Regions from separate parts of the Homo sapiens genome. Here all the other regions are linked to region 4. Evidence: promoter capture Hi-C in 16 types of primary human blood cells and fetal thymus (Javierre and others, 2016). All regions are on one chromosome and are shown on one strand. The core of a region is centred on a gene start or on the middle of the fragment in contact, and the rest is flanking DNA. Distances in the headings are between cores, read along the strand shown. Region 1 holds the start of SPG7 (SPG7 matrix AAA peptidase subunit, paraplegin). Region 2 overlaps CBFA2T3 (CBFA2/RUNX1 partner transcriptional co-repressor 3). Region 3 overlaps PIEZO1 (piezo type mechanosensitive ion channel component 1 (Er blood group)). Region 4 holds the start of ZNF778 (zinc finger protein 778). Region 5 overlaps GALNS (galactosamine (N-acetyl)-6-sulfatase). Region 6 overlaps SPG7 (SPG7 matrix AAA peptidase subunit, paraplegin).

Region 1 (3,113 bases), core at 20-2,519, 290 kb before region 4:
TCCTGCTGTCACCAGAGAGTGGCTCCTTGTAGAACATTTCCAGGTACCAAACCAGTTAACAAGTATATACTTTCAGAGTTCTCCTTTCAAGATAAACATTTTCCCATTTAAATATGTTTTATGGCCGGGCGCGGTGGCTCACGCCCTGTAATCCCAGCACTTTGGGAGGCCGAGGCAGGCGGATCACAAGGTCAAGAGATGGAGACCATCCTGGCCAACATGGTGAAACCCCGTCTCTACTAAAAATACAAAAATTAGCTGGGTGTGGTGGCGCGCACCCGTAATCCCAGCTACTCAGGAGGCTGAGGCAGGAGAATCGCTTGAACCCGGGAGGCGGAGGTTGCAGTGAGCCAAGACCATTGCACTCCAGCCTGGGCGACAGAGCGAGATCTCTGTCTCAAAAATAACCGAAAAAACAACAACCTAAAAGGTGTGGGCTAAGCTCCTAGGCGAGGGCTAGGAGAAAAAAACATCAGCCCAAAAGCTGAAGGACACAAGGTCTGGTTTTCGGGAGGAGATGCTATCCTATCCTTAGCAGAACCTGAAACAAGGCCGCACTACAGGGGGTGCTCAATGACTGTATCAATAACGTGCCGAGCTACATGACAACAGCAAAATGCAGCTACAGGGTATTTTGCGGACACAGAAACGTTCTGGGCCCCCTACTCGGCAATAACCACCCTAACTGGAAGGCGCTGGAATTCCTGGTGACGGAATCGATCCACAGGCGTGGACTGTAAATTAGTGCTACGCCGGAAACCGTTACTGGATTCCACTTTAAAAGGCGAGGAAGACGGGCGGAGAACATCCACACACAACAGACGGGTTGGGAAAGTCCACGCCGAGGACTGCGCGGATCCCAGCCCTGCCTCTTCCCGGCCCGCCCAGCGCCCACGATCCAGGGCCCCAACAGTCGCTCCGCGCCGAGGTCCACAGCTGGGGGATCCGCGGGCCCACAGGCGCAGGCTCCCCCGCCGCAGGGGCCAGGCGGCCTCCGACCCGCCCCGCCGGGCTGGGCCTTACAGAGCAGAGCCGGGCGGGAGGTGGGGCCCGGACTCCGCGGGGATTTACCTGCAGAGCTCGGCCTCCAGCCTCGGCGAGGTCCCCCGGAGGCCTGCTGGCCATGTACGGCCGCCCCCTCCCGGGCCTGGCGGGGAACCCTGGACTCCAGGCCGGGCCTGGGCCCCACAGCGGCCGAGGACCCGGGCCTGGACCCCGGCGGAGGGCACGGAGCAGCAGCAGCAGCACGGCCATGTTGGCCTGAAAGCCGCGCCTGCGTGATCCGCGGGGCGCTACACGGCGCCTGCGCGGCGGGGTGGGCGGGGTCTGACGTGGCGCCTGCGCGGTCCCCACAGCTGCGCCCCGCCGCGCCCGGGTGCCGCTTGCCGCACCCCCGAGCCTGAGCCCGTCTACCTCGTGGCTGCCTGAGGCCCGGGTATGGGGGCGCGCGTCTGCGAGGAGGTCGCGGGTGCCCTGGTTTTTTTGAAGCCGGCCTTGTATTCCCAGGGCCTGGCGGGTGAATAACCGGCCGGGTCGTGGCTGCGTGGTCGTGCTCCGCCCGCGCCGAGGGGCCTCACGCCCGGGCAGCCTGCGTCACCCGCAGGGTTCGGTCACAGGCGAGGGCGGATGGTGCGGGCCGGAATCCCGCCTGCGAGTAGAGGCCCGCGCTCAGGAGGGCGGCGCCGGAGGCCTCGGGTCGGGAGGGCCCCTTCGGGTGTGAGGAGCGCAGGAAGGGGGCGGTTTTCCTGCGTCTTGAGCCGCCCGAGGACGAGGACTGAAGTTGCAGCCGCCGCAGGGAGGGCAGCCCCGGAGGAGGAGGGTCGTGAGGGAGGGAGCGCGCAGTGCGGCGCGGCCTGGCAGGCGTCTGCAGAGCTCGTCCCGCACACCTCTGACTTCGGAGCGCTCCGTCCTGTGCCTTCGGACTGGCTCACCTCGGAGGCGCTTCGAGCCTCGGTCCTGCCCCGGCCGCTGCGCGAGCCCATCGTAGGAAGCGGGGAGGCGCCGTCTGGAAGCTTAGGAAGAGGCTCTGTTCTCTTCAGGGTCCGCCCTCCGGGCCCGGGCAGGGTCCCTCGTGGGCTCCCAGGCGCGCGGGGTCCTCCGCCACCCCGACCCCTTCCTCCGTCCGCCTTAGGTCTAGAGCTGACGCCAAGAGCTGGAAAGCTTGTTGAGTAGGAAAAGCAAAGACTAGATGGTCTGTCACAGAGGTAGGATGAGGGTGACCTATTTATTTTTATGCTTTTCTGTACTCCGCAAATTCGTAACAGTGAATGCCAGTGACGACAGCCAACATCACCGAGTGCCTAGCTCCGTGTCGAACACCCATGTAATATTCACAACCCTGTGCAGCGAATACAATACCTCTATTTTACATGTAAAGAAAGATTCAGAAGTATTAAAAGTAACCTGCCTAGGATTACAGCTCTGAAGTTAGGGCAGAATTTCAAGGCCGGTCTGGTTTGTTTCTGGACCTGCACTCACTCCACCACTACAGACGAGGTTGCAAAGCCAGTGGGCTGCGTGTAATCCTCCCTCTTCCTCAGCCCCGAGACGCTCAGGAAAGTGTTTTCAGTTATCGTGGTTATCCGCCCTCAGCCCTCCAGTGGGCCGGGTGCCTCGGCAGAGGTGCTCGGGGCTGGGGAGGTGTTCTGTTGGTTTGTGGAGAGGACCTTCCCCTACACCCAGGGCTGACACTGATTTTCACAACTGAACCGCTTTTCCTTTTGCTTCTTATTGTACAGTCAGCCTTCGCAGTGAATCCAACCTTGCCGTTTCCTCCTCCACTATTTTTTCTTTCCCTGATTGAAAGACACCAGGTGGGCCGGGCGCGGTGCCCTCCCCCTCCCTCTCCCTGCCCTTCATCCCAGCACTTTGGGAGGCCAAGGCGGGCGGACCACGAGGTCAGGAGATCGAGACCATCCTGGCTAACACGGCGAAACCCCGTCTCTACTAAAAATACGAAAAATTAGCCGGGCGCTGTGGCGGGCGCCTGTAGTCCCAGCTACTCGGGAGGCTGAGGCAGGAGAATGGCGTGAACCCGGGAGGCGGAGCTTGCAGTGAGCCGAGATCCCGCCACTGCACTCCAGCCTGGGCGACAGAGCGAGACTCCATCTCAA
Region 2 (3,156 bases), core at 89-2,588, 270 kb after region 4:
GGAGGTCACAGTGAGATGGTTAGGACACAGCTCCCGTTCTGATCGAGTTATTTATGGGACTGAAGATTCTCTGGCTTTCACATTAAACACCCACCACGGGAATGGAATTAATGTCAAATCCTGTCTTTTTCTGGCAGTATTATTCATGCATGAATACACAAACTACTACCAAAAAGTGCCCCTCCCTCCTTTTACGAGATGTCTTCCAACAAAAATTTACTTTGTATCTTTATTTTTATTTTTGAGACAGGGTCTCGTTCCATCACCCAGGCTAGAGTGCAGTAGCGTGATCATAGCTCCCTGCAGCCTTAACCTCTTGGGCTCAAGCAATCCCACTGCCTCAGCCCCCTGAGTAGCTGGGACTACAGGCACGCACCACCACACCCGGCTAACTTTTTTATTATTTGTAGAGATGAGGTCTTGCTATGTTGCCCAGGCTGGTCTTGAACTCCTGGGCTCAAGCGATACTACTTCCTTGGCCTCCCAAAGCATTGGGATTACAGGTGTGAGCCACCAAGCCCAGCCTACTTTGTATCCTTATTAGTTCTCAAAATGTGTAATACATTCACATTGTTTGTATCGGTTGTATACTACCAATAATTATAACGATAATCCAGCCCAGGAAATAAATTTTAACATAGGAAAATGTTTAAATCTTGACATTCCAACTATGTACCTAGTTTTGTACGATAGGGGAATCAAAAGACTTTCAAACATGAAAACATATTAGGATAAAAATCGGCTGGGTAGAATGGAAGGAGGCATTAAGGGAGAGAAGGGCCATGTAGAGATTCAGGCGCTGCAGAAGAGTCTGTTTGTATCTGTCTTTTAAACGGCAAATAAAATGTCATTGATATCCTCATTTTTGTCTGCTGAATTTTTTAAGTTAATAGATTTTATTCTTTAGCGTGGTTCTGGGTTTACAGGACAACTGGGCGGAAAGCGCCGAGTTCTCATTACTCTTTCCGACTTGTTCCCTAGTGGGGGGTCCCTACATTGCACCTGGCACTGGTGTGATACATTCGTTACAACCGATGAACCAATACTGACACCTTTTCATTAACTGAAATCCATAGTTTACATTGGGCTTCTCTCTTGGTGTTACATTCTATGTGTCTAGACAAGCATATGACTTGCGTCTACCATTAGACTGTCATACAGAATAGTGTCACTGCCCTAAAAATCCTCTGTGCAGTCTGGGCAACACAGCAAAACCCTGTCTCTACAAAAAATAAATACAATTAGCTGGGGCTGAGATGGGAGGATCGCTTGAGCCTGGGAGGTCAAAGGATGCAGTGAGCTGTGATCACGCTACTGCACTCCAGCCTGGGAGACAGAGTGAGACCCTGTCTAAAAATAAACAAACAAAAAAACTCAGCCAGAAGCAGTGGCTCGTGTCTGTAATCCCAGCACTGTGGGAGGCCGAGGTGGGCAGATCATGAGGTCAGGAGTTCGAGACCAGCCTGGCCAACATGGTGAAACCCTGTCTCTACTAAAAATACAAAAATTAGCTGGGCGTGATGGTGGGCGCCTGTAATCCCAGCTACTCGGGAGGCTGAGGCAGGAGAATTGCTTGAACCCGGGAGGCAGAGGTTGCAGTGAGCCAAGATCATGCCACTGCACTCCAGTCTGGGAGACAAGAGCAAGACTCTGCCTCCAAAAACAAACAAACCTCTCTGCTCTCCCTACTCAACCTTCCCTATTCTATAACCCCCTGAAAACCACTGACCTTTTTACTACTTCCATCATTTTACATTTTCCTGAATGCTATTGAGTTGGAATCAGACAGTATATAGCCTTTTCAGATTGACTTCTTAGCAATATTCACTTTTTTTTTTCTTTTTGAGATGGAGTGTTGCTCTGTTGCCCAGGGTGGAGTGCAGTGGCATGATCTTGGCTCACTGCCACTACAACCTCTGCCTCCTGGGTTCAAGCAATTCTCCTGTCTCAGCCTCCCAAGTAGCTGGGATTACAGGCACCGCCACCACGCCCAGCTAATTTTTGTATTTTTAGTAGAGACGAGGTTTTGCCATGTTGGCCAGGCTGGTCTCGAACTCCTGACCTCAGGTGATCCGCCCCCTTCGGCCTCCCAAAGTCCTGGGATTACAGGTGTGAGCCACCACGCCCGGCCATCAATGTTCACTTTCCATGGCTTGATAGCTCACTACTTTTGTCATGGATAACACTCTATCGTCTACATATGCCACAGTATTTTATGTATTCACCTGTTGAAGGCGGTCTCAGTCGCTTCTAAGTTTTGGTAAAAACGAATGAAACTTCTATCAACATTAATGTGCAGGGTTTTGTGTGGACATTAGTTTTTAACTCATTTGGGTAAATACCAAGAAACGTGAATGCTGGGTGGCGTGGTAAAAGTGTGTAGTTTCATAAGAAACAGTCAAACTGTCTTCCAAAGGGCTGTACCATTTTGCATTCCCGTCGGCAATGAATGACAGCTCCTGTTGCCTCACATCCTCACCGGCATCTGGGGTTGTCCGTGTGTTGAGTTTTAGTTATTCTAACAGGCGTGTCGTGGCCTCTCGTGGCTGTGCTGACCCACTCTCTAGTGGCAAGGCTGCTGGGCATCGTTTCCTGTGCTTATTTGCCAGATCATCTTCTAGATCTCTTCTCTGATGAGGTGTCTATTCAGATCTTTTGCTCATTTTTAATGGGGCTGTTTGTTTTCTTATGGTTTGGTTTTAAGAGTTCTTTGTATATTTTAGATAACAGTTGTTCATCAGATATGTGTTTCCCAAATATTTTCTCCCAGTCTATGGCCTGTCTTTTCATTCTCTTCATAGTGTCTTTTGCAGAGCCGAAGTATGAAATTTTAATGAAATCCAACCTGCCAAATTTTTATTGTATGCATCATGCTTTTGGTGTTATATTTAAAAACTCACTGTTCTAGGTAGGGAGCTGAGTGAAAATGCAGGTGTTTAAGACGAGTTTATTCAGATATTTTTAATGAACGACAGTGGCTATCAAATTGCTATGGTATCTAGAATCCATTAGCCACCCGCTTATTTTTAAATATCTATACCTATAGTGTATCAGACTTTCTATTCTTGGCAGCTATCTAAACTTTTGTTGCAGAGTTTTAGTTATAACAGAAAATGTTTGAGAGTCTATAGTGCTCAGAACTATTTTCTGAAGGTC
Region 3 (2,753 bases), core at 161-2,660, 460 kb after region 4:
TCGTCAGGCTTGGTTCAGCCCGTGTTAGAGGAGGCCAGACAGCTCCTCCTCGATCACCACAGGGAACGAGGGTTGGGCAGTTTCTCCTCTCCCACCCGGGCGTGGGTCAGCTGCAAGGGTCTCATCCCAGGAACTGGATCCTGGCAGGGGGGCTCAGGCATCTGACATCCCCTGGCAGGTCTTCCTATGTGCCAGTGGGAGTGGGTGGTGTCCAGCCCTCTTTGTGGAATGTTCCGGTTGAGTGGTGTGTGGTCCTGGTTACCACCATGTGGCATTTGTGGCTTTCCTGGCCAGCACCCACTGAAAGCAGAGGCCAGCCCAGCCCTTGGACACCCAGGGGCCCAGCAGCTACCGTGGGGGCAGCCTCTCCCCTCCTGACTGTGCTCCTCTCAGCTGTAGGATGAAGGTCTGTGGATGGGTGATGGCTGGGCTCTCTGCTTCCCAAGGAGCTGGATGTGGGCCATAGTCAGGCGTGTGCTGGTGAGGCGAGGGGGTTGGGGGTTGGGAACCACAGCTCTCTCTGACCCCATCCCATTGCAGCTGACTCAGGAAAAGGCATTACCCCCACGGGGTCACAGGCCCAGCCTGGGCAGCTCCTGATGGGAACATGGGAGCCACAGGGCAGGGCAGGCTCCTGTCCCCGCTCCTTGGATTGTCTCAGGCCCCGCCTCCCCTTTGGCTGAATTTCTTCCTTCTCTGCCTGAGCCTGATCTGCGAAGCTTCCGACCTGCCCTGAGTTGGAGCCAGTCTTCAGGGCCAAAAGCAATGCCGTCTCCTCCAGGCAGCCTGCTCTGAAGTCTCCCCCTCTGGCTTTAGCCCACAAAGTCACAGCTGAGGCCACATCAACACACTTAGACCAAGAGCACTGCCGGCTGCATAGACAGCACAGGTAGATCCAAGGAGTGTTTCGAAAAGCCGTGGCCCTGCGGCCGGGATGCCCGGACCTGGGTCCTGACCACTCTTGGGAGCTCCTCCCCTCTCAGAGCCCATCCCATCTGAAAATGGGGGCATTGGAGCATTGGAGGAGTGCTCCTCACTCCTGCCCTGCTAGCCGGCTACTCCGAGGACCCCAAGACCAGATGATGGGAGAAGTGGTGGGCTGGGCTGTGACCCTGAGCCCCCTTCTCATCCCACCCGTGAGGCTGCCCCTGCTTGGTGTCTGTGGCAAGGCTGACAGAAGATGGCGCCAGGGACCAGCCAGGGCCCTCCTGTCTCAGCCCGTCCTTGGGTGAGTGGGTGTGCTCTGGGGGTGGCAGGTGTGCTCCGGGGGCGGGAGGTGTGCTGCGGGGGGCCGGGTACGCTCTGGGGGGGCGGGTGAGCTCTGGGGGGCTGGGTGCGCTCTGGGGGGGCTGGTGTGCTCTGGGGATGGACAGGTGTGCTCTGGGGGGCGGGGTGTGCTCTGGGGATGGATAGGTGTGCTCTGGGGGGGCGGTTGTGCTCTGGGGGGGCAGGGGTGCTCCGGGGGTGAGTGTGCTCTGGGGGGCGGTGGGTGTGCTCTGGGGGCGGTGGGTGGGCTTTGGGCTAAGTAGCCCTCTTCCTCTCTGAGCCTTTTCCTTGTCTGTGTTGTTGGTGAGTGGCCGCCACCTGGGACAAGCCTTAGCTGTCTGTCCAACTGTCCACCATGTCCCCGGACCCTAGACCAAGCCCGCTGCCTGGTGGGGCCTGCTTGGTATTGAATGAATGAATGAATGGATGAATGGATGAATGGATGAATGAATGAGTGAACAAACTCTGGGGGGCGTGTTGCTGATCACCCCAGGGCAGGCCCGTGGTGGGTCATGGTCTCAGGCAGGGGACTTGCCCTGCCGGGTGACGTTGGCCTGCCGGGGAACCCCTGCCAAGGTGCCTCCCATGCCCCCATCGTCCTCTGCCTTTGAGTCCACTCTGCCCCTCAAGGTTCCCCTCTGGCTCGGCCAGGGGCAGGGCGGTCAGGGAGGCCTCCAGCTCCAGCCCCTCCCTCATCTCCATCCTCAGCCCCTGCACCCGCCTCATCTCCAGCCCCAGCCCCTTGCAGCCTCAGGCTCGGGCTTCTGAGAATCCTTTGCAGATTTCAGGGCTGGTTATTTTTTTATTCTGGCAAAATATACATCCATAAAGCTTTGTTTCCTGAGATGATCTCACCCTGTCGCCCAGGCTGGAGTGCGGCAGCGTGATCATGGCTCACTGCGGCCTCAGCCTCCTGGGCTCAAGTGATCCTCCTGCTCCAGCCTCCTGAGTAGCTGGGACCACAGGCATGCACCATCATCCCCGGCTAATTTTTGAATTTTTTTGTAGAGATGGGGTCTCTGTGTTGCCTGGTCTGGTCTCGAACTCCTGGGCTCAAGTGATCCGCCTGCCTTGGCCTCCCAAAGTGCTGGGATTACAGGCCTCAGCCACCACACCCGGCCTAAAGTTTGTCACGTTAGCCGCATTGAAGGGCACAGGTCAGCAGCGGTAAGCATGTTCGCATTGTTGTGCAGCCATCACTGACACCCATCTCTAGAACTTCTTCGTTTTCCCAAAGGAAACTGCACGCACGGCACCACCTCCCTGGCCTCCCCACAGCCTCAGGGTCTGGTGACCTTCATCCCCAGGACCTACGCTTCTGACTCCAGGAGCCCTGCCTGGTGTCCACACCACACTAAGGTGCCCTGCCACGGGCTTCGAACCCAACCCTGGTGCACTTGTTGAGCATTGGACGTTCCTGGCAGGTCAGACCGTGAGCTCCTCTGCTCTGACGGATGCATGGACGGCTGCCACCTGGCTGGACAGGT
Region 4 (2,720 bases), core at 61-2,560:
GCCTCAGCCTCCCGACTAGCTGGGATTACAGGCATGCGCCACCATGCAAGGCTAATTTTGTACTTTTAGTAGAGACGGGATTTCTCCATGTTAGTCAGGCTGGTCTTGAACTCCCGACCTCAGATGATCCACCCGCCTCGGCCTCCCAAAGTGCTAGGATTACAGGCGTGAGCCACTGTGCCCAGCGGACCTTATTATTTTTAATTATTATTATTATTTTTTGAGACGGAGTCTCGCTCTGTCGCCCAGGCTGGAGTGCAGTGGCGCCATCTCGGCTCACTGCAAGCTCCGCCTCCCGGGTTCACGCCATTCTCCTGCCTCAGCCTCCAGAGTAGCTGGGACTACAGGAGCCCGCCACCACGCCCGGCTAATTTTTTGTATTTTTAGTAGAGATGGGGTTTCACCGTGTTAGCCAGGATGGTGTCGGTCTCCTGACCTCGTGATCCACCCGCCTCGGCCTCCCAAAGTGCTGGGATTACAGGCGTGAGCCACCGCGCCCGGCCTAATTTTAATTTTCTTAGATGAAATACTAATATTGTGGTTTCAGTAGGATAATGTCCTTACCCTTAACAGACGCTTTACCAAGTATTTAAAGGTTAAGTATCATGTGTGCAGTTTAATTTCAACTTACTTACACTCAAATAATAATTCACCGTAAGGTTTATTTATTGGGGGAGAGAGAAAACATGGCCCAAAGCTAAAAAGGAGTAAAACGATTGCAGTGGATATTCCTTGTAGCAGATGTTCACATTTTTATTAGATTCAGATTTTCTAAAGCAAAACGTGAGAAAAAATACAGTTAGTCGAAACACACTGTTCACCGTGGATTCGATTACTCCAAGACCAGCGGGACAACGGCCGCATCCCTCCCGCCCCGAGGGCCGGGCCTGGAAGTCCCGGCGGCGAGGGACGCGCGCTCCCGCTGGCCCCCACGGGCTAACTTTCACAGGGAGCTGCACGCCCGGGGCGCTCAGGGGTCTACCTTACGCTTCGGTCCCAACACAATGTGCCAGAAACAAATAAAAAACGTCAAAGCCGAAGCCAGATTCTCACAGAAACACGCCCTGTTCAAAGTGAAGGAAGCAAAGGGCCCCTCTCTCACCAGCTCCGCGGAATGGAAGCGCTGCCCGGGTCTACCGCGAGCGGCGGCGACTTTCCCTTCTGGAAGCGGTGCCGGGGGCGCAAGGCGCGAGGCAGGCGGGCGGGCGCCCACTCCCGGACCAGCTTCCCCGCGGACAGCCCGAGGACACGCGCGGAACTCTCCGGCGCCAGCACGCACCGCCGCAAGAACCGGATCAGCTGTAAGACAGGCGGAGGCGGGGCCGGCGCCGGAAGAGGGGCCGGCGCGTCTTTGGCGTCACTTCCGCCTCCAGCCTCCGGGCCGAAGCTTTGGCCTATGGTGCGGGGAGGTAGTAGTTTCTTCCGCGAGGGTGCGGGAGGGCCCCGGGGCGCCCTTGGGAACCGGGCTGGAGGCAGAGACAGGCCCGGAGGACCAGGCGGACGTAAGGATCAGGCCTCTGGACGCAACTGCGGAGCCGGAACAGACCAGGAGGGCGCGGTTGGGCGGGTACAGCCAGGAAGTGCTCGTCGCGAGCGCGGCCCGCGGTTCGGTCACAGCGAGAAGCCCGCGGGTGCTGGGAGTGCTCGGTCTTCTCTCGATCTCTGCAGGGAGTCACTGGCCCCGTTCCTTTTTATCTGTCTGAACATCACGCCGAACTTTTAACAGTTGATTCCACTGCATTTTCAATGTGGTATTTTTTTTTTCTGTAAATGTTCATCTATTTTTCGCTTCAAATATGCGTTTCTGTTACTTTTCTAATGTACCGTAGGAGCCAAGACCACCTATACTACGTTGCAAAATAGCACTGATACCAGGGGTTCTCCCAAGGTTCATTCAGAAATGTCACATGATTCCAGTAACAATACGAAAAGGTTTTTTTTTTGGAACCAGGCATATTGATCCTGGAGTTCACATGGAGGAACAAATGTCTCATAACGCAGACGACGCGGACAAACAAAAGCGCAATGCCCGACAGATGCGAAAACAGCCTCTGTCATTAAAACTGTGTGCTAGTGACACATGAACAGGAAACAAATGGAATATCCAGACATCAACCCAGTAACATGGAAATTTGGTTCATAAACATAATTTCAGAGCGGTGGAACAAACATGCAGTTTATAATGAAAGGTGCTAAGACAAATGGTTAGCCGTCTGAGAAATGATGAAATTAATTCTGGATCTCACAGGGATAAACTCCAAACGGATCAGGAGTCTAAATGTGAAAAACAAAACAAAACCACATGTGAAGTGTTCACGTGATTTCGTGGCTGATTAAGAAACAAGATGTGCCCAGGAGGTGGCGGTGGCGCACAAGCTTTGACAGGTTGGAGGGTGAGGGAGTCTCACGCACCATGAGATTACCCACAGGCTTCGAATTGGGGGTCACTACTCAGAAAAGAGAAAAAAATGAGCGTGGGCGGGGGGCGCGCAGAGAACTCCCAGAGAAGAAGGAGATCAGACAGGGGGAGGGCTGACGTGACTAGATCACGTTTCTCAGCAGCCTGACAGGTGTCTGAGTCACAAAGCTCTGAAGGGCAGCAACGGCTTGCAGTCTTTAGAGCCCCAGGATTTATCTTATCTATGGCTAGCAGAGATTGGACACAATTTCACGAAGTATACAAAGCAACCACATGCTAAATGGTTCAACACTATGAGTGT
Region 5 (3,019 bases), core at 1-2,500, 360 kb after region 4:
AGATAACAGACACCACCCATAATTTCCCCACCCAGGGGTGACAGCCGACAGTCCTGGGCAGCTGCTTTTCCATCTCATATGTCTTATTTGTGTGCAGTGACTGCTTTCCAGAGCACGCTCTCCAGCGCCCAGGGGTCCGTGTCCTGACAGCAGTAGCCGGGCCTTTCTCTGCACTGAGTGGCATCTCCCTCCTAAAGATACTTTGCTTCAGAATTTCATCCTTTCACTTTTGAAGTTCCTCTGGGCCAGTGTAGATACTTTGTTTCAGAATTTCTTCTTTTCATTGTGTAACTCCTTCTGGGCCAGCATAGCTTCGCTGGATGAGCTGGGCTCTGCAGGTGAAGCCTCCCTGTTAAGTTTCTGCTTTTCCTGACTTTCTCAGAGGACAGAGGGGTGAGGCGGGGCAGCTCATGAATAATTTTTTATGTTGAAGACTTGTCGAAATAATATTTTGGTTATGTTGGGTTAAATAAAATATAAAGTTAGTCTGTATTTCACCTACTTCTGCTTTTCTAATGTGGCTCCCGGTAAATAGGGAATTGCATGTGGACTCACCCTACGTTTCCATAGGACAGCAAGGGTTCAGGCCGTGCAGGGTGGAGGGGTGGGGTGTGGCCACCGGGGCACATGTGGGGGAGGGTGACAGGAAGCCCCGCCCACCTGGGCACCTGTTCTGTGGCCTCCACTGTGTGGCTTGTGGGGTCGTTTGGCAGCTGACGCCTAAAGAACCCCAGAGGAGCTGTGTCCTGGCCGGTAGGTGTACTTGTAAGGACTTTCTGATGCAGACAGCAGAAGATGAAGTCAAAGTGACAAGCAACAGTGGGGATTCCCTGGCCCTCCTGAGTCGACAGACCAGGGCCGCCTGGCGAGTTTCCCCTTTCGTGGCTCTGCTGCCTCTGAACTGGCCACATCCTCACTCAGCCTGTGATGGTCCTAGGTGACTCCAAGTCACCCCTGCAGTCAGCAGACCCAGTGGGAGGTTGGCTCTGCCCGTGTCATGTTAGCGTGATGTGGGTCTCAGCCCTGCGCCAAGCACACTGGGGGAGGGGCACATGCTGACCTGTCCAGCCCAGGCCTCGGAGCCTCGGGCCTACCCCAGAAGGGAGACTGCCCCTGATCATCTCATCTGCCTGGACCCAGCAGAGAGGGGGTTCCCTGAAGGGCCCATGGTGCAGCTGCCAGGACAGGGCAGGGATGCTGGCAGGTGAGAGCCACAGAAGCTCACAGTGGAGCCCCGAGGTGCCCTGACGTGGCCCAGGGTGCAAGGGGGTCCTCACAGGCTGTCTTCTCTCCTTGGAGTCCGGGGCTTCCTCCGCAGCCCTGTCCACACCTCTTCCTGCACTGCAGACCGGTTGTTTCTGCCAGGGCGCTGGCGTCTGAACCTGCAACAGGTCATTCGGCCTCTGGCATGACATGGGATGGCTTGATGACCCACAGCTCTGGGCCCAGCACCACTTGAGGACGAGTGTGCATGTCTCAAGTTCAGATTTTGGAGCATGGCCCTCCAGGGACCGGCTGCCTCCAGCCCAGTCTCCCCCTATCCAGTCCTCTGTGGCTGGGCAGTGGGGGGCCTGGGCCCCCCTTTCGTCTAAGCAAGTGCAGTTTCAGAAAAGGGTTGTCCCCAAAACTAGCTTATTGCACCCCTCATGGCCAGAAGCCACTCTCCAACTGGTCACACTGACCCGGGAGAGAACCATTGCCCCCAGAGTCGGGACCAGAAGGGGAAGCTGGGACTCAGGGGTGAGAGCAGCTGGCAAGAGCCCCCACCTGTCCAGGGGGAGCTGAGCCGGGCAAGGACGGGTCTACCTGCACTCCCCAGGGCTGCCCTGCCCTGGCCTTTCACTGACCCACGGTCCAGCGCGGCCTGGCTTCGTAGTACCCTGGGCACCTGCTGCGTGAGTGAGGAAACCTGCGTGGCCCACTCTGCTCTCCAGGGCTTCTGGGGCCTTGGAGACAGGTGAGACCCAGTGACAAGTTCCACTCTGGCCCACACACAGCTCCTGCCTCCCAGGGCGAGCAGCACTCTGTGTCTCCACTCCTTATTTGGAAAATAGGGTTAAGGAGGGTCAGCCCTGACCACAGAGGAAGTGGAGAGTCAGGGCCACCCAGGCCAGCTCCTGTTGCCACAGCAGCCTCGTCGAGCCACCAGAGTCCGGGGAGGGTTGCTCAGTGCCCCTCGTTTGAAACAGACAAGCACTGGCCTGCTCGTCTTCATAATAATCCCATAGCAACCAGTAGGAATGGAAACTGCGTTTCTTAAAACTCTGAAATTCTGAAGGATACTGATCCATGGCTCACAGCTGTGCTCGCTGAACGTGGACAATCATTTGGGGGCTTTTAGGCCTTTTTTTTTTTTTTTTTTTTTTTTGAGATGGAGTCTCACTCTGGTCACCCAGGCTGGATTGCAGTGGTGTGATCTCAGCTCACTGCAACCTCCGTCTCCCAGGTTCAAGCAATTCTCCTGCCTCAGCCTCCCGAGTAGCTGGGACTACAGGCTCCCACCACCGTGCCCAGCTAATTTTTGTATTTCTAGTGGAGACGGGGTTTCACCATATTGGCCAGTCTGGCCTGAAACTCCTGACCTCAGGTGATCTGCCTGCCTCAGCCTCCCAAAGTGCTGGGATTACAGGCATGAGCCACCACACCCAGCCAGGACTTTTTTTTTGAGACAAGGTCTGGCTCTGTCACCCAGGCTGGAGTGCAGTAGCTCGATCACAGCTCACTGCAGCCTCAAACTACTGGGCTCAAGCAATTTTCCTGCCTCAGCCTCCTGAGTAGCTGGGATTATAGCCGCCCATCACCACACTCGGCTAATTAATTTGATCTTCAATCACTGATACCCTTTCTTCCACTAGATCGAATCGGCTACTGAAGCTTGTGCATGCGTCACGTAGTTCTGGTGCCATGGTTTTCAGCTCCATCAGGTCATCTAAGGTCTTCTCTACACTGTTGATTCTAGTTAGCCATTCGTCTCATCTTTTTTCAAGGTTTTTAGCTTCCTTACCATGGATTCAAACAT
Region 6 (2,791 bases), core at 124-2,623, 330 kb before region 4:
CCGTGAAGCTGGACAGTGAGGACGTTGGCACCTCACCACTGTTCCTTAAGAGAGTCTTAAAACTTTCCGAAATGCTCTTTTATTTGGAAATCTAGAACCCGGGGGCATACTGGAGCTCACTGCATGGCAGTTCTCAAGCACAAGCCCAGGCCTATGCGAGGCAAACCCATGGACCTGGAGCCCAGGGGCCCCCGGGACCCTCCTTCAGCTCTCTGGATATCCCAGTGCAGTAATGGCTTCAGAACAATGAAGCCGCTTCAATTTTATTCCGTTTCCTGTAGCCATTACCAACAATTAACCAATTAAATGTGTCTAGAGTTGGCATATAGGTTAAGTTTTTGTCCAATTAAATTATCTAAGAAGTCTTGCTTAGCTCCAACTCTCTTATGACCACAACTTATCTTTTACAAAATACTTAATAAATTCAAAGCTACGTCTACACCAGATTCACCCCATGGCATGCACTGGAACAGAAGGAGTCATGCAGGGAAAAGCGCTCTGAAACCTCCAGGGCCCGCGCCGCTGCTCCTCACCAGAAGTGACCTCGTTGAAGGACAGTGCTTCCGAGGCCCGTCCTCCCAGGGCCATGCACATCCGCTCAAACAGCTGCTCCTTGGTGAAGAGGTGCTGGTCTCTGGGGAGCATCTGAGCAAAGCCCAGGGCGGCGTTTGTCCGAGGGGTTATGGAGACCTGGCACAAGGTCAAGATGACCCAGGTCAGTAGGCAGGATGCGTGGGCTTTGAGGAGGAAGGTGTGGGACTAAGAGGTCTCCGTCATTAAAGCGTCTCAAAGCAGGAAGGCAAATGTGCAGCATCCTCTACAACAACAGGGGATCCTAACACTCTAGATGGCCAGCCCAGAGACAGCAGCGTTCCCACCACAGGTGCCTGTTCACACACTGCCGGGAAGTGTCTTCTCATACATGACTAGACAGGCAGGGAGTCAAGAAGACAAGGCCCGTAGAAGACAGCTGAGAGGCGAAGGACAAGTTTCACCCCCGATGGCCGCTGCGCTGACCCCTCACACCAGCGACAGCTACTGAGGGTTCAGAGCAATGAGAACCCCACGATGCTGAGGCAGCAGAGGCTGTCCTCACCTCTGCTGCTCCCCCACAGCCCCACATCAGGTGTGCAAGGAGGTGGCGCGGGGCAACGAGCTAACTCGACAACACGGAACCGCTGAGTGGGAGACGGACGGAGACGGGGCAGGGGCTGGCCCAGCTGCTGCTTCTGAGAATTGTGGCGGCGAGATGGCCACATCCAAGTGCTCTGAGAATCCCGAGGACGCTTAATTTAAAATCTAAAACTAGGCTGGGCGGGGTCGCTCACATCTGTGATCTCGGTACTTTGGGAGTTAGAGGTGGGCAGATTGCATGAGCCCAGGAGTTCGAGACTAGCCTGGGCAACATAACGAGACCCCTTCGCTACAAAAAATATAAAAATCACTCGAGCCACCAGTGGGGCATGCCTGTAGTCCCAGCTATGCAGGAGGCTGAGGTAGGAGGATCGTGTGAGCCCGGAAGGTCGAGGCTGCAGTGAGCTGTGATCGCACCACTGGACTCCGGTCTGGGCAACAGAGAGAGAGACCCTGTCTCAAAACAAAAAGAAGCTCTAAATAACGGCTGCAGTGATGATTGCATTAATGACCAAAACCATAACAGCCAATTCACAACCTTTTCCTGGCAGGACACTGAGCCTTGGGAAAGAGACTCACTTTTTCATTGTGACTATCTGACTTTTGCCCATCAAATACAGTAAAAATTCTTTTTTTTTCCCTTTGAGAGACAGTCTTGCTCTGTCACCCAGGCTGGAGTACAGTGGCACAGTCTTGGCTCACTGCAGACTCTGCCTCCCGGGTTTAAGCGATTCTTGTGCCTCTACCTCTCAAGTGGCTAGGGTTACAGGTACGCACCACCACGCCCAGCTAATTCTTTTGTATTTTTGGTAGAGATGGGGTTTCACCAGGTTGGCCAGGCTGGTCTCGAACTCCTGACCTCAAGTGATCTGCCCGCCTTGGCCTCCCAAAGTCCCTGCATTAATTTTGATTTCTTGACATACCGTGTTAAAACGTCGTGTTCACTGCTGAGTTTTTTAGTGTCCCATAAATGGGACCCCCAGCTGAGTGTCCACTCGCCCCACAGTGGGCCTAGCTCTGGTCCCATGACTGTGGTGCACATCGCCAAGGAGCAGCACGGATCTGGTCCCCAAACGCTGCCTCAGCCCTGCTGAGACCCTGGGATGGGCAGGACGCTCTCTGATTAACACGCAACTTTGCTACAACTCACACCTGAGAACCAATCACGGAGACCAGCACTGACAAACCAAGCTGGCAACTGCTACAGCGTATGCATTGTTTGCAGTGAACCCTGAGGTAGGAACACAGCACTGCCGCCTTCTCAGGTGAGCCTCAAACCTGCACGGCTTCCTGGGGCTCCACTGTAAAGACGGCACCTGCGTTCCGAGTAGAGACCTCCTCTTGGCAGCACTCGGACTCCCGGTGGTGGAGCCACGTCTTAGAGAAGCTGTAACATCACCATTTGGTAAGAATAAATGTCCATCGAGTTCACAGCTGCCTACAAGAGTAGTTTTTTGTTTGTTTGTTTGAAGTAGAGACAGTTTTGCCCTGTTGGCCAGGCTGGTCTTGAACTCCTGACCTCAGGTGATCCACCATGCCCAGCCTAGAATAGTATTTTTTAAATGTACACTCAACTCACTTCTTTCCAATGTTAGGAGTCATTTGGGGTGGACAGGCAAAGGCAGCGAAACCCCATTGCATGGTGTAACCTTCCACG

What was found. The method cuts DNA at HindIII sites, captures the fragments that hold promoters and counts their contacts. A CHiCAGO score of 5 or more calls a contact.
Region 1: the fragment with the promoter of SPG7 here is called in contact with the fragment with the promoter of ZNF778 in region 4 in 2 of 17 cell types (endothelial precursors and megakaryocytes); the score reaches 6.3 in endothelial precursors.
Region 2: a fragment that was not itself captured here is called in contact with the fragment with the promoter of ZNF778 in region 4 in 11 of 17 cell types (naive CD4 T cells, activated CD4 T cells, total CD4 T cells and 8 more); the score reaches 12.4 in naive CD4 T cells.
Region 3: a fragment that was not itself captured here is called in contact with the fragment with the promoter of ZNF778 in region 4 in 4 of 17 cell types (monocytes, neutrophils, fetal thymus and 1 more); the score reaches 8.7 in monocytes.
Region 5: a contact is called between a fragment that was not itself captured here and the fragment with the promoter of ZNF778 in region 4, in 1 of 17 cell types (naive CD4 T cells). The highest score is 5.1, in naive CD4 T cells.
Region 6: a fragment that was not itself captured here is called in contact with the fragment with the promoter of ZNF778 in region 4 in 2 of 17 cell types (endothelial precursors and total CD4 T cells); the score reaches 5.7 in endothelial precursors.

Annotation. Positions count from the first base shown.
Region 1 is chr16:89,506,559-89,509,671 of GRCh38, reverse strand. It overlaps SPG7 (SPG7 matrix AAA peptidase subunit, paraplegin), which reads right to left and starts at 1,269. Exons shown (of 17, transcript NM_003119.4): 1 at 1,072-1,269. The coding sequence starts at 1,254. It overlaps LOC101927863 (a long non-coding RNA gene), which reads left to right and starts at 1,352. Exons shown (of 5, transcript NR_188547.1): 1 at 1,352-1,435. RefSeq lists silencers at 776-895, 926-1,485, 1,556-1,765, 1,886-1,955. The HindIII fragment of the contact is 2,077 bases long and covers 1-2,014 here.
Region 2 is chr16:88,945,001-88,948,156 of GRCh38, reverse strand. The region is part of intron 1 of CBFA2T3 (CBFA2/RUNX1 partner transcriptional co-repressor 3); the gene reads left to right. The region is part of intron 1 of LOC100129697 (a long non-coding RNA gene); the gene reads right to left. Among named protein-coding and RNA genes, the nearest start is that of CBFA2T3, 31 kb to the left of the region's middle. The HindIII fragment of the contact is 3,830 bases long and covers 1-3,156 here.
Region 3 is chr16:88,751,835-88,754,587 of GRCh38, reverse strand. The region is part of intron 1 of PIEZO1 (piezo type mechanosensitive ion channel component 1 (Er blood group)); the gene reads left to right. Among named protein-coding and RNA genes, the nearest start is that of PIEZO1-AS1, 10 kb to the right of the region's middle. The HindIII fragment of the contact is 1,378 bases long and covers 722-2,099 here.
Region 4 is chr16:89,216,293-89,219,012 of GRCh38, reverse strand. It overlaps ZNF778 (zinc finger protein 778), which reads right to left and starts at 1,310. Exons shown (of 7, transcript NM_001201407.2): 1 at 1,103-1,310. ZNF778-DT (ZNF778 divergent transcript) reads left to right here and starts at 1,360. Exons shown (of 1, transcript NR_186410.1): 1 at 1,360-2,720. RefSeq lists enhancers at 1-423, 424-954, 1,479-1,528, 2,478-2,720. The HindIII fragment of the contact is 2,087 bases long and covers 1-1,389 here.
Region 5 is chr16:88,852,601-88,855,619 of GRCh38, reverse strand. The region is part of intron 1 of GALNS (galactosamine (N-acetyl)-6-sulfatase); the gene reads left to right. It overlaps LOC107983950 (a long non-coding RNA gene), which reads left to right. Exons shown (of 2, transcript XR_933884.3): 2 at 1-492. Among named protein-coding and RNA genes, the nearest start is that of GALNS, 2.8 kb to the left of the region's middle. RefSeq lists a silencer at 610-679. The HindIII fragment of the contact is 3,253 bases long and covers 1-2,876 here.
Region 6 is chr16:89,550,878-89,553,668 of GRCh38, reverse strand. SPG7 (SPG7 matrix AAA peptidase subunit, paraplegin) reads right to left here. Exons shown (of 17, transcript NM_003119.4): 14 at 534-690. Among named protein-coding and RNA genes, the nearest start is that of RPL13, 8.4 kb to the left of the region's middle. The HindIII fragment of the contact is 5,190 bases long and covers 1-2,791 here.